Linked DNA regions of Homo sapiens: region 2 is linked to region 1. The links are contacts of gene promoters, found by promoter capture Hi-C in blood cells and fetal thymus (Javierre and others, 2016). All regions are on one chromosome and are shown on one strand. Each heading gives the region's core, a stretch centred on a gene start or on the middle of the fragment in contact. The rest is flanking DNA. Distances are from core to core; before and after follow the strand shown.

Evidence for each region. The method cuts DNA at HindIII sites, captures the fragments that hold promoters and counts their contacts. A CHiCAGO score of 5 or more calls a contact.
Region 2: a fragment that was not itself captured here is called in contact with the fragment with the promoter of ZNF397 in region 1 in 2 of 17 cell types (total CD8 T cells and non-activated CD4 T cells); the score reaches 6.8 in total CD8 T cells.

What each region holds. Positions count from the first base shown.
Region 1 is chr18:35,237,927-35,243,004 of GRCh38, reverse strand. ZNF397 (zinc finger protein 397) reads right to left here and starts at 1,971. Exons shown (of 4, transcript NM_001135178.3): 1 at 1,896-1,971; 2 at 121-614. The coding sequence starts at 534. RefSeq lists a silencer at 1,790-1,919 and enhancers at 1,709-2,234, 2,180-2,289. The HindIII fragment of the contact is 1,449 bases long and covers 1,389-2,837 here.
Region 2 is chr18:59,135,053-59,140,130 of GRCh38, reverse strand. It overlaps SEC11C (SEC11 homolog C, signal peptidase complex subunit), which reads right to left and starts at 247. Exons shown (of 6, transcript NM_033280.4): 1 at 96-247. The coding sequence starts at 182. RefSeq lists silencers at 208-347, 768-817 and enhancers at 388-487, 568-657. The HindIII fragment of the contact is 1,471 bases long and covers 1,160-2,630 here.

The DNA of each region.
Region 1 (5,078 bases), core at 722-3,221:
ATTAGTCACTTCAGGTTAGGGTTCAGTAGAGACATAAAAATTTTTATCCTACTGTTATGATACCATTACATGCTCCAGGCTGTAAATTCCTTTTCCCACATCACTTTTCTCCGTTCCCACCTGCTGCCCTGGGTCATCAAACTCCCTCTCTAAATCCTCCAACAGGGTCACAGCTTCCTCGCCGCTTTCTGGATTATGTTGCTGAACCCAGATCTGCAGCTCCTCAGGCAGAATGCTCAGGAACTGCTCCAGTACCAGCAGTTCTAAGATCTGCTCCTTTGTGTGCAACTCTGGCATTAGCCACTGATAGCAAAGTTCCTGGAGTCGGCTCAGAGCCTCCCGGGGCCCAGGTGTCTCCTGGTAGCAAAATTTTCTGAATTGCTGACGAAACAATTCTTGGCAGGATTGAGTACTCCCATTCTGCTTAAATTTCTCATCCCAGGAAAAGTTATCTTCTACTTTCACTAGTATTAGTTCTTGTTCCGGAGGATCCTGAGGTATCAGGGTTGAAATCACTCCAGATTCCACAGCCATTCTTGGCTGAAACAGCTTAGCAAAAAGCTCAGTACAACTGGTTCTGTGCTTGCGAAGGAGTGTGAGTAATCTCTTCTTTCCTGAAGGATATAAAAGCAGTTAACTTACAGCAATCAATAAAATCTCTAAGTACTTGTAATAAGAAAGATGAGTAACTTTAGTAATATATTGAAAGGGAGTAGATTTGGGGCTATCACTAAATAAAACAATAATGTGATGATAAACTAAAAATCATTAACCTCAATTAGTGTCTCCCATTATGAAGAATTCCTACCACTAATGTTAGAAAAAACTATTTTAGAAGCCTAAGAATGTGAATGCAACATTAACATCAATCACATAGTGAGAAAATTTCCTTTCCAATTCTTTCAATTCTGATTGTATCAAGGAGAAAAGTCTATCTTTAACATGTATGTATTAATAAAACTTGTAGAACTCTCTTTTAAATAAAATACAGGCTTCAGAATCAGACTTCCAAGAGTAAAAATATTTAGGCAGAATTTAGTAATACTGATTTTAAACATTTATTTTTACTTACTTTCTATCTAAAGCAAGTAATGTTGATTTTCATTTAAGGCAGTAATAACGTTTTTTTAAAAGTTCACATTAAACATGAGTTGATGTAAATATTGGATATTTGTCATTTGATCGCATTTGGTGTTTACCGAATTACTTCAACAAACACTGAGGCACTTACTGAGCATTAAGATTTTTGCTTATGAATAAACGAGTCTACAGAGGAATTGACCAAGAACCAAGACGTATCTGTAAAATGCTTACCATGTGTTCAAAAACATGATAGGTATCACATACACAAAAGCAGCAAAGAGATCCGTATCAGTTCTGAAAAAGCTTAGAATATCCCAAGACTAAAAATGTTCAAAAGCAAAATATGGTAACAAATAGGTATTAAATGTTGTGACACAGACCAAACTTGACCTGCTTTTAGGATGGCGAGATATCGATAGGAATGTATGCCCTTAGTTTGTCAGGACAGATGAGTAAAATTCATTCCTCACACTACGGTTAACGTTAAGAGATGAATTAAAATATTTAGCCTACAAATTTAAGGTTTAACCAGTCCGGCCGCACTAACTAACTAACTAACTAGCCCTTCTATTTTTATATCCTTGGTTAAACCGCAGCATTTACGAAGTCACGGGGTCAGCGGAACTGCGTTTTCCTTTGGAAAGCAGGAGTTTGAGTGCTGGCCTCCTCTGAGTTCCCCAGTCGCTTGGAGACGCCGCGCGGGCCAAAGGGCCGCGACCTGGGGATGGGCAGGCCGAGGAGCGGAGCTCCTCCACTGTCCGGCGCGCGCTCCCAACCCCACCTCCCTCTTCCTAGGGGCCCACGTCCCTCACCGCGAAGCCCAGGAGCGGCCAGGAAATGAGCCACCCACCCCGAGCTGCAAGCCACAAAGACCGGAAGTGCGCGTACGCAGTGTTCCGCTCTCGCGCCCTTCGGGTCCTCCGCCGCCCCGCCCCTTGCTCTGAGGTAGCCAATCAGAGCCGCGGGCTCTACAGTTTCCACCGCCTTCTCCCGGTAGCCGCTAGCCCGGCGGAATCTCCAAGGCCAGGGGAGGGTGCGCTAGGAGTCAGGGGTCCTTGTGAGCGGCGGCACCTGGAGGGTCCCGCATCTCGCCTGGGCCGTTCCCACCCTGGCTTTCTCCTGGCACCACCCATCATTGTTGGTCTCAAGTAATTCCCGAATCTCACTCCCAGTTTTCCATTAAAATATTCAGATTTTCGGCCGGGCGCGGTGGCCGAGGCGGGCGGATCACGAGGTCAGGAGATAGAGACCATCCTGGCTAACACGGTGAAACCCCGTCTCTACTAAAAATACAAAAATTTAGCTGGGCATGTTGGCGGGCGCCTGTAGTTCCAGCTACTCGGGAGGCTGAGGCAGGAGAATGGCGTGAACCCGGGAGGCGGAGCTTGCAGTGAACTGAGATGTGCTGCACTCCAGCCTGGGCGACAGAGCGAGACTCTGTCTCAAAAAAAAAAAAAAAAAAAAAACCTCAGATTTTCCTGTGATTCCAGTTCTTTTCCGACAAAAGTAAATGTAAGGATGAATAGGCTGAACAAAAACTAACAGTCACTTATATTGCTTTTGCCTATGAGTATCACTGGAGCCTTACAACAGTTCTGTGCTGTGGCTATATAATCCCAAATTTACAGCCGTAGACATCGCCCAAAGTCAGGCAACTTGTGACCAGGGACGTCCACGTCCCCATAGTTCAAGGAGACTGGTATCGTAGACTCCTGGAGCCTATCTTAGGGTCTTCCCGTTCTTCAGTGGAAGCTTGCTGGTATTGTCTCACTGTTTAAATTTTTCTTTGGCTATTTAGTCGGTGAAAAATGATGCCTCATGTTTCAACTTTGTGAGCTTAAGATAGTCCCCCTTCATGTTTACTGACCATTTATGGTTCTTCAGAGATGGCTTTTCCCATTTAAAAAATTAAGGGAGTAAGATTTTTCTTTTTTATTTGTGAGAATTTTTTGCTTATTAAGGATAGCAACTCGTTTGTTGCAAATCGTTTCCCATTTATTTGTATTTATTTTTAAAACGTTACATTTTACATGTTTAAATGTTACATATTTTTAAAATGTTATATTAAAAAAGTACACAGGATAATAACAAAGCGATACATACATACATAGAAACAAATTCTCCTTTGTGAGCCAAGACTTAAAACACATATTTGAGAAAAATGTTCGTTAGCATTCAAAGCTATTAGTGACTCACTAAATAATTTTATCATTGTGAAATGACTACAGCAATTTTACAAAGCAAAAAACCAAATAATATTAATTTGTTTATAAATTATCAATTGCTTCATAATGAACCACTTCAAGACTTAGTGACTAAAAACAGCAGATGTTTTATTGCTCACAGTTCTGTTGCCAGGAATTCAGGAAGGGCTTAGCGGAGATGGCTAGTCTGCTTTATGATGTGTCAGCTATCTTCACTTAACTGGGGTGGAAGGTCCAAGATGGCTTCACTCAAATTGCTGAAGTCTTGGTGTTGCCTCTTGGTTGAAGTTACTTGATTCTTCTCCACAAGGCCTCTCTCCATTCAGGAGTTTAGCCTAAGCTTTCTTACATGGTGACTGGCTTCCAAGAGAGTTAAGGAGGAGGAAAGATGCTAATTCTCTTAAAGCCTGAGTCTGGAACTGGCATTATATTTTTCTGCAGTATTCCATGACAGAAGGACTAGAATGGTGGAAAAGGGAAATAGACATTAAGCAGCTTGATCATAGGAGGAAATTTTGGCAGTTATCTTTGCATCCAACCTAACACACCTTGTTATATTGAGAAACCTACTATGTAAGAGTGAAACTATTGAAAGAGAGAAGGCATATCAGTTGAAATGCTTTTGGCTGCAGTAACAGGAACCTTACTAAATGTCCTTATTGTTCAAGCCTTTTAAAAACAAATCCTAATAGCTAGATGCATGGAGATAAAATCATTCCCAGGGTTGGTTACTTCTGCATCTGGACAATATTGTCAAGGACACAGGTTTCTTCCTTCTTTTGGCTCTGCCATCTTTAAGTGTGTTGTTCTCCAGTCTGGCTTCCTTTATGGTCCTAAAATGATTTCCTCAGTTCCAGATTACAGATAATGTTCAGAGACCAAAAAGGGGAACACCTTTATCTTTTGCCCCTTTATACGATTAAGGAAACTCTTTTTCCCTGATAGATTTCTCCATCATGTCTTATTAACTGAAATTGCTTTGAGTGCTTATGTCTATCACTAACAAGGGAGGTAAGGCCTCCATGGTGGGATTAGGACAATTGAAATTTATATCCCAGGGCTAAGGAGAAGGCCAGCCTCTCCTAAAGGACACAGACACTCTGGGGAGAATGCATGAAATTAGGGCTGTGTTAAAAAGGCAGAAAAGGGAGATAAATAGATGAATGTTGAATTTGCAACAGTAATATCTGCTTTGATAGGTAATCTGATTCCCTTGTATAGGTAAGAAAGTGAGACACTGAGAAAAAATCCAGACTCCTGTCCTTCCTTATAAGATGTTACCTATGTTTAAAATATAAAATATTAGTAATTACTTACTTGCAAGAGATGTAGATTAGAGATCTAGAGCCAGTTTCTGGGACATAGTTTAAGTTCCCACTGAGAGAGCAACTGATTACCCCATAGGACTGTAGGGCCTTAGGGCCTCCTTAGAGCCCCTTAAGGACCTTAGCCAACAATTTCCATGACTTATTTAACTTTCAGTGCTATCGGTTATATCAATGCCCTTGAAATCATTCCCTCTATCTTCCCCCATCCCCAGTTTCACATATATCCAGTCTGCTTTAATGTGAAAATATTTGCAAAATTATTGAATCAAGGGTAGAGAAGTATAATTTTTTTCTCCTCCTTCAGATGTTCTTGATTTTTGTTTCTGTTTTTTTAATGATATGTATGACAGGTGTGAAATAATGTCAGCTCCAGGCATTACCAGTGATTAGTGAGTAAGGTTGCTCATTCAGTGAAGTCCAACTGCTTGAATTACTGTATCATACAACATTGGTCTACTTTATG
Region 2 (5,078 bases), core at 646-3,145, about 24 Mb before region 1:
ATTCACTGGGAGCCGGAGCCCTGACTGGGAAGCCCCGACTCCCCGCTAGCACAGGCGGTCCCGGCCACGGCGCGCTCACCACCCTCCTCCGTCACCTGGCGCTTGTTCATCTTCTTCAGGTCCCCGAAGATATCCAAGCCGGACGCGGGGAGATGAGCCCCCACGGCGCCCGCACGCACCATAGCAGGGTCTCCGGGGACCTAGCGGCCCGCCGGCTCTGGGTGGCACAGACGGCTGCGGAGCACCTGCCGGCCCCCGCCCACCGGCCCAGCGTCCTTGCGGCCACGTGACCGGCGACTCGCTTGGGCGTCTGGGAATCGTAGTCTCGCCAGTCTTGGGCACTGGCCAGCCAGGAATGAACCTGAAGGAAGAAAACTACCACTCCCAGAATGCTGCGGGGTGGGCACCTCGGCCAGTGAAGACCCGGGGCTCCTAGGGAGGGCAGCTACAGGGCTCCGGAGCCTTGTCCGACCCTTCGGAGGGAACATCGAGCAGCGAGTGACCCCGCATACCTCGGGGGGCAACTCGGGGAAGGGACTACTCAAGAGGAGCTGAATTTCCCGACTCTGGTCAGGCGCCAAGAGGACACCTAACTCCCGCTCGCAAATCACCTAGCCGTGTATCTTGGCTATTGGATGACTGCAGCGAGGAAAGGTGGTGCCTCTACGCTGGGGCGGGCTGAGCCGAATTGGGGCGGGGCCTAAAGATGGACTGCGGTGGGCGGGGCTTGGAAGAGGCGGGACTTTTGAGGCCGCTGAATTCTGCATTTTGAGTGGTACCACTTGTATGCAAGGAAGTATCTTTGAATGCCTTGACCATAATTGGGTTGCAATAGATATTAATTAAATGAATACATAACCACCTAATTTCATACACGAGAAAGCAAAGGCCCAGAAAGGTTCATTGACATGGCCAAGGTTAAGTGGAAATGAGTGGAATATAACTCAAAGTTTTAAATTTAGAAGTCCTAGATCATCACAGTTCTGATCCTAGATTACCTTTGGTTCATTCACTCACTCGTGTATGCATTATGCATTCTTTATTGTATTTATTTATCCACAAATCTTTATGGAGCACCTACCATGCACCTGGCCTTGTTCTAGGCACTTGAGAAACATCAGTTAACAAAACAAGCAAAGATTCTTGCCCTCATGAAGCTTATATTCTACCGAAGGCAGACATAATGGATAATTTATACGGTACCTAAAGGATGGAGGTGCTATGACAACAGGAAAAGCAGATAAGTTGAATGGGGAGGTCTGGGGGAAAGGATCAGGTTGCAATTTAAAATATACCAGAAGCTGACTTACCATGAAGCTAATGAAAGGTAAGTTCTGGGACCCTTCAATTGCAAAGGTGTTTTTCCAAGGTGTGGGAGAAACTTAACCATAGAATGTGTAAAACTTTCAAAAGCAAGATATTGCAATTGCTATTGGTTAAGAGTTCTGTTTCTTTGCATTCCAACTTCACCTCCATTACATTTCCCCTCCTGTTGGAGGGACAAGGAGAATTTTGGGGATCCAGCTAAGGAGGAAACGAGTTGGAGATACATTTGGTTTGAGTTTAGTGAATTTATTTATGTGGTTCATGGTCTTTCCTGCCATCCTCGTGTAAAAAATGGCTTCTGGGAATACTGCCATCCACTGGGCCAACTCACCTGGCACCGTGGCAGGAAGTCCCACTGGAAGTGGCATCTGATATGAAAGTGTTCTGCAGCACTTGACCTTGGAAATAAGTGGATGGAGAGGAAAAACAAGGTTTGAAATGTACAGATCCAGAAGCTAGTCTGTGTAAAATTCTTCCAAATATCAGATGTATAAAATTATAAGTGCAAGACACAGTGCTTAGTACATAGGAAGATATGGTGATAGTTAACCCTGCCACTAATAATTGCTGGAACTAAGGTGGCAGCACTAAAGGTTCAGAATCTGGATACATTTTGAAGAAAGAGTCTTCAGGATTTTTTGAAAGAATAAATATAGGGCGTGAAAGAAGAAAAGAGATTGAGGCTGACTCCAGGGTTTTTAACCTATGGAACTAGAAGGGTAGAGTTCCCCTCAACTTCAATGAGGAAAGCTGTGGGTGGAACAGGTTTGTGGGAATAGAGTAAGGGTCCAAAATGTGACCAATAAACCTAGAACCCAGTGTGATATCTTCACATCAGAACCTTTGGCCCAGCCTCCAGGCTCCTGCTTAGGTTGAGCATTGGGTGAGAAGCAACACAGGAAGACATTGGGTAGAAGTCCCTGCATATTGTCCAGTCTTAGACTAATTTATTCACCTCCATGAACCCTTTGCTCATCCACCAAATAAAAACCGTATTTGTTACAGCCACTTTGGAAGACAGTTTGGCAATTTCTTCCAAAACTAAGCATCCTCTCACCATATGATGCAGCAATTGCACTCCTTGGTATTTACCCAAATACCAGCTTGAAAACGGATGTCCACACAAAAACCCGTACACGGATGTTTTTAGCATCTTTATTCATAATTGTCAACACTTGGAAGCAACCAAGATGTCCTTTAGTGGGTGAATGGATAAATAAACTGCAGGATATCCAGACAATAAAATGCTATTCAGTGCAAAAAAGAAATGTAATATCAAGCCATGAAAAGACAGGAGGGAAGCTTAACTGCATATTACTAAGTGAAAGAAGTCTATCTGAAATGGCAACATACTGTATGATCCCAACTACATGGCATACTGAAAAAGGCAAGAGATGTTGTGAGAGTCAAGTGAGGTATTAATAATATGCAAAAAAAACCTCCCATCTGACTCAAAATAGACTCTCAGAACCAGTAGGAGGAATTATGGCTACTATTAATATTTTTTTCTTAATCCAGGACATAAGTAATTAAGAGAACTAGAATGTTCACTTCATTTGTTCTGTCACTGGTGGCCTCTTCCCCAGTGAAGTACTCCTTCCCGTGAACTCTAGAGGCAAGACTATGGAGACAGTAAAATGATCAGTGGTTGCCGGGGGTAGGGGGGAGAGTATGATACTATAATGATGAGTACATATCATTATATATTTGTCAAAACATAGACTGTACAACCCCAAAGTGAACCCTGATGTAACCCGTGGACTTTGGGTGATAAGGATGTGTCAGTGTAGATTCACCAATTGTAACAAATGTACTACTCTGGCAGGGGAAGTTGATAGTGGAGGAGGCTGTGCATGTGTGGGGGCAGGAGTAGATGGGTATATCTCTATACTTTCCACTCATTTTTGCTGTAAACCTAAAACTACTCCAAAAAAATAATGCCTAAACATTTTGGATACAGCATATAGTGCTCAGGTGATGAGTACACTAAGATCTCAGAATTCACCACTAAAGAACTCATTCATGTAACCAAAAACCATCCGTATCCCAAAAATTATTGAAATATAAATAAATAAATAATAAAAATAAAGTCTAGTTTTAAAAAGTTTTTCAACTGTTGGTAGTATCTGCCCTGATGGTTATGACAATCACAGGTAGGATAAGTAAAAATGTTTTGTAGACTGTAAATTTTATAAATGTTAGATGCAAGCATATGTCATGGAGAGAATCAGCCCCTGTAAATGGAGGTATAAACCACATTGGCCTGCACAGAACCACTGGAGCATGGGCCCTGTGAAGATGTCTTCCCCACTTTTGTGAATGATACGCGCTGGATTTGTTTCTTTGGGCTGCCATAACAAAATGCCAAAGTCAGGTGGCTTAAAACAACGGAAATTTGTTTTCTGACATTCTGGAGGTTTTGCTGAGACCTGCTTCCCCCAAATTCTCTAAGGAAGGATCTTTGCTTGCCTCTTCCAGATTCTGGTAGCCCCAGGCATTCGTCGGCTTCTACAGCATAACTCCAGTCTCTGCCTCCATCTTCCCATGTCTTCACTCTGTGTCTGTGTCTTTCCTCTTCTCTTCTAAGGTTAATGGTCATATTTGTTAGAACCCACCCTACTCTAATGTGACCTCATTGTAACTTGATTACATCTGCAATAAAAGACCCTGTATCCAAATAAGGTCACAGTCACAGGTACCAGGTGTTAGGACTTGAAAATGTCTTCTTGGAGGACACAATTCAACCCATAACATGCAGTTTGTATACTGGAATAATAGCTTAGCAGAGAGGTTTAGAGCCTAAGCTCTAGCAAAAGACAGTCTTGGGTACCAATCCAGGTTCTAAAACTTACTAGCTGTGCAGCCCTGAGTAAGTTATCTTACCTTTCTGTGCCTCTTTTTATAGTGATAGTGGTTACACCTACCTCACAGGAGTAGGTTATGAAGAGTCATTTTTATATGTAAGGCACATAGAATAGTGTGTGACACATAGTGCTCATTAAATGTTAGACATGATCATCATCATCATTAATTACTACCAATGATCAGCAAGCACAGTGATCACCACCATTCGGGTTCATAGCTGAAGTCTTTACCATCTCTCTGCATGTATTACAGACATTCTAATGGCAGGTGTAGCTTGTTCTTAGTGTAACTCACATACACCTGGTGCTTTCCTGACCGGAGAGACGTGTTGTAAACTTATATTTTAACACTCATCAGGTCCTCTAACTACTGAGCTGTTCTCATGTTTGTTTTACCTTTGGAAAACCATGAACCCATTTGCAGTGAACCCAGTGACAGTCATCAGAAAATAGGATGTGAAGGACAGGGAGGCCACTGAGGACCACATGAAACAGAGACAGGCTACCACCACTAAGATGGAAGCCAGCACCAGCCCAAGGGCCACAGCGAGGAAAGTACGCTCTCCCTGCCCTGCATCCAGCACCATGATGAAGCAAGGCTCATGGGGCAGTGCTAGGTGGGTAATCTTTTATCAAGTTGTCCACTCCATCCAGCTCTACACGGCTGGGGGACAAGGAGGGAGATATTAATACCCACCCATCCCCTGGCACATAGAAGGCTGCTCTTTGGTGCAGTCTTTTCCTCCCTGAGGCTGCCCTAATAGTAACTTCAATCTAAATTTCCTGACGTGGGTAGATGGCTCTGGGAGAAGTGTACTGCCCTGCAGGCCTCTTTCTCAGCTCCTGGTTTGGCCATATTCCCTCTCCTTACCTGACCTTATTGTGACT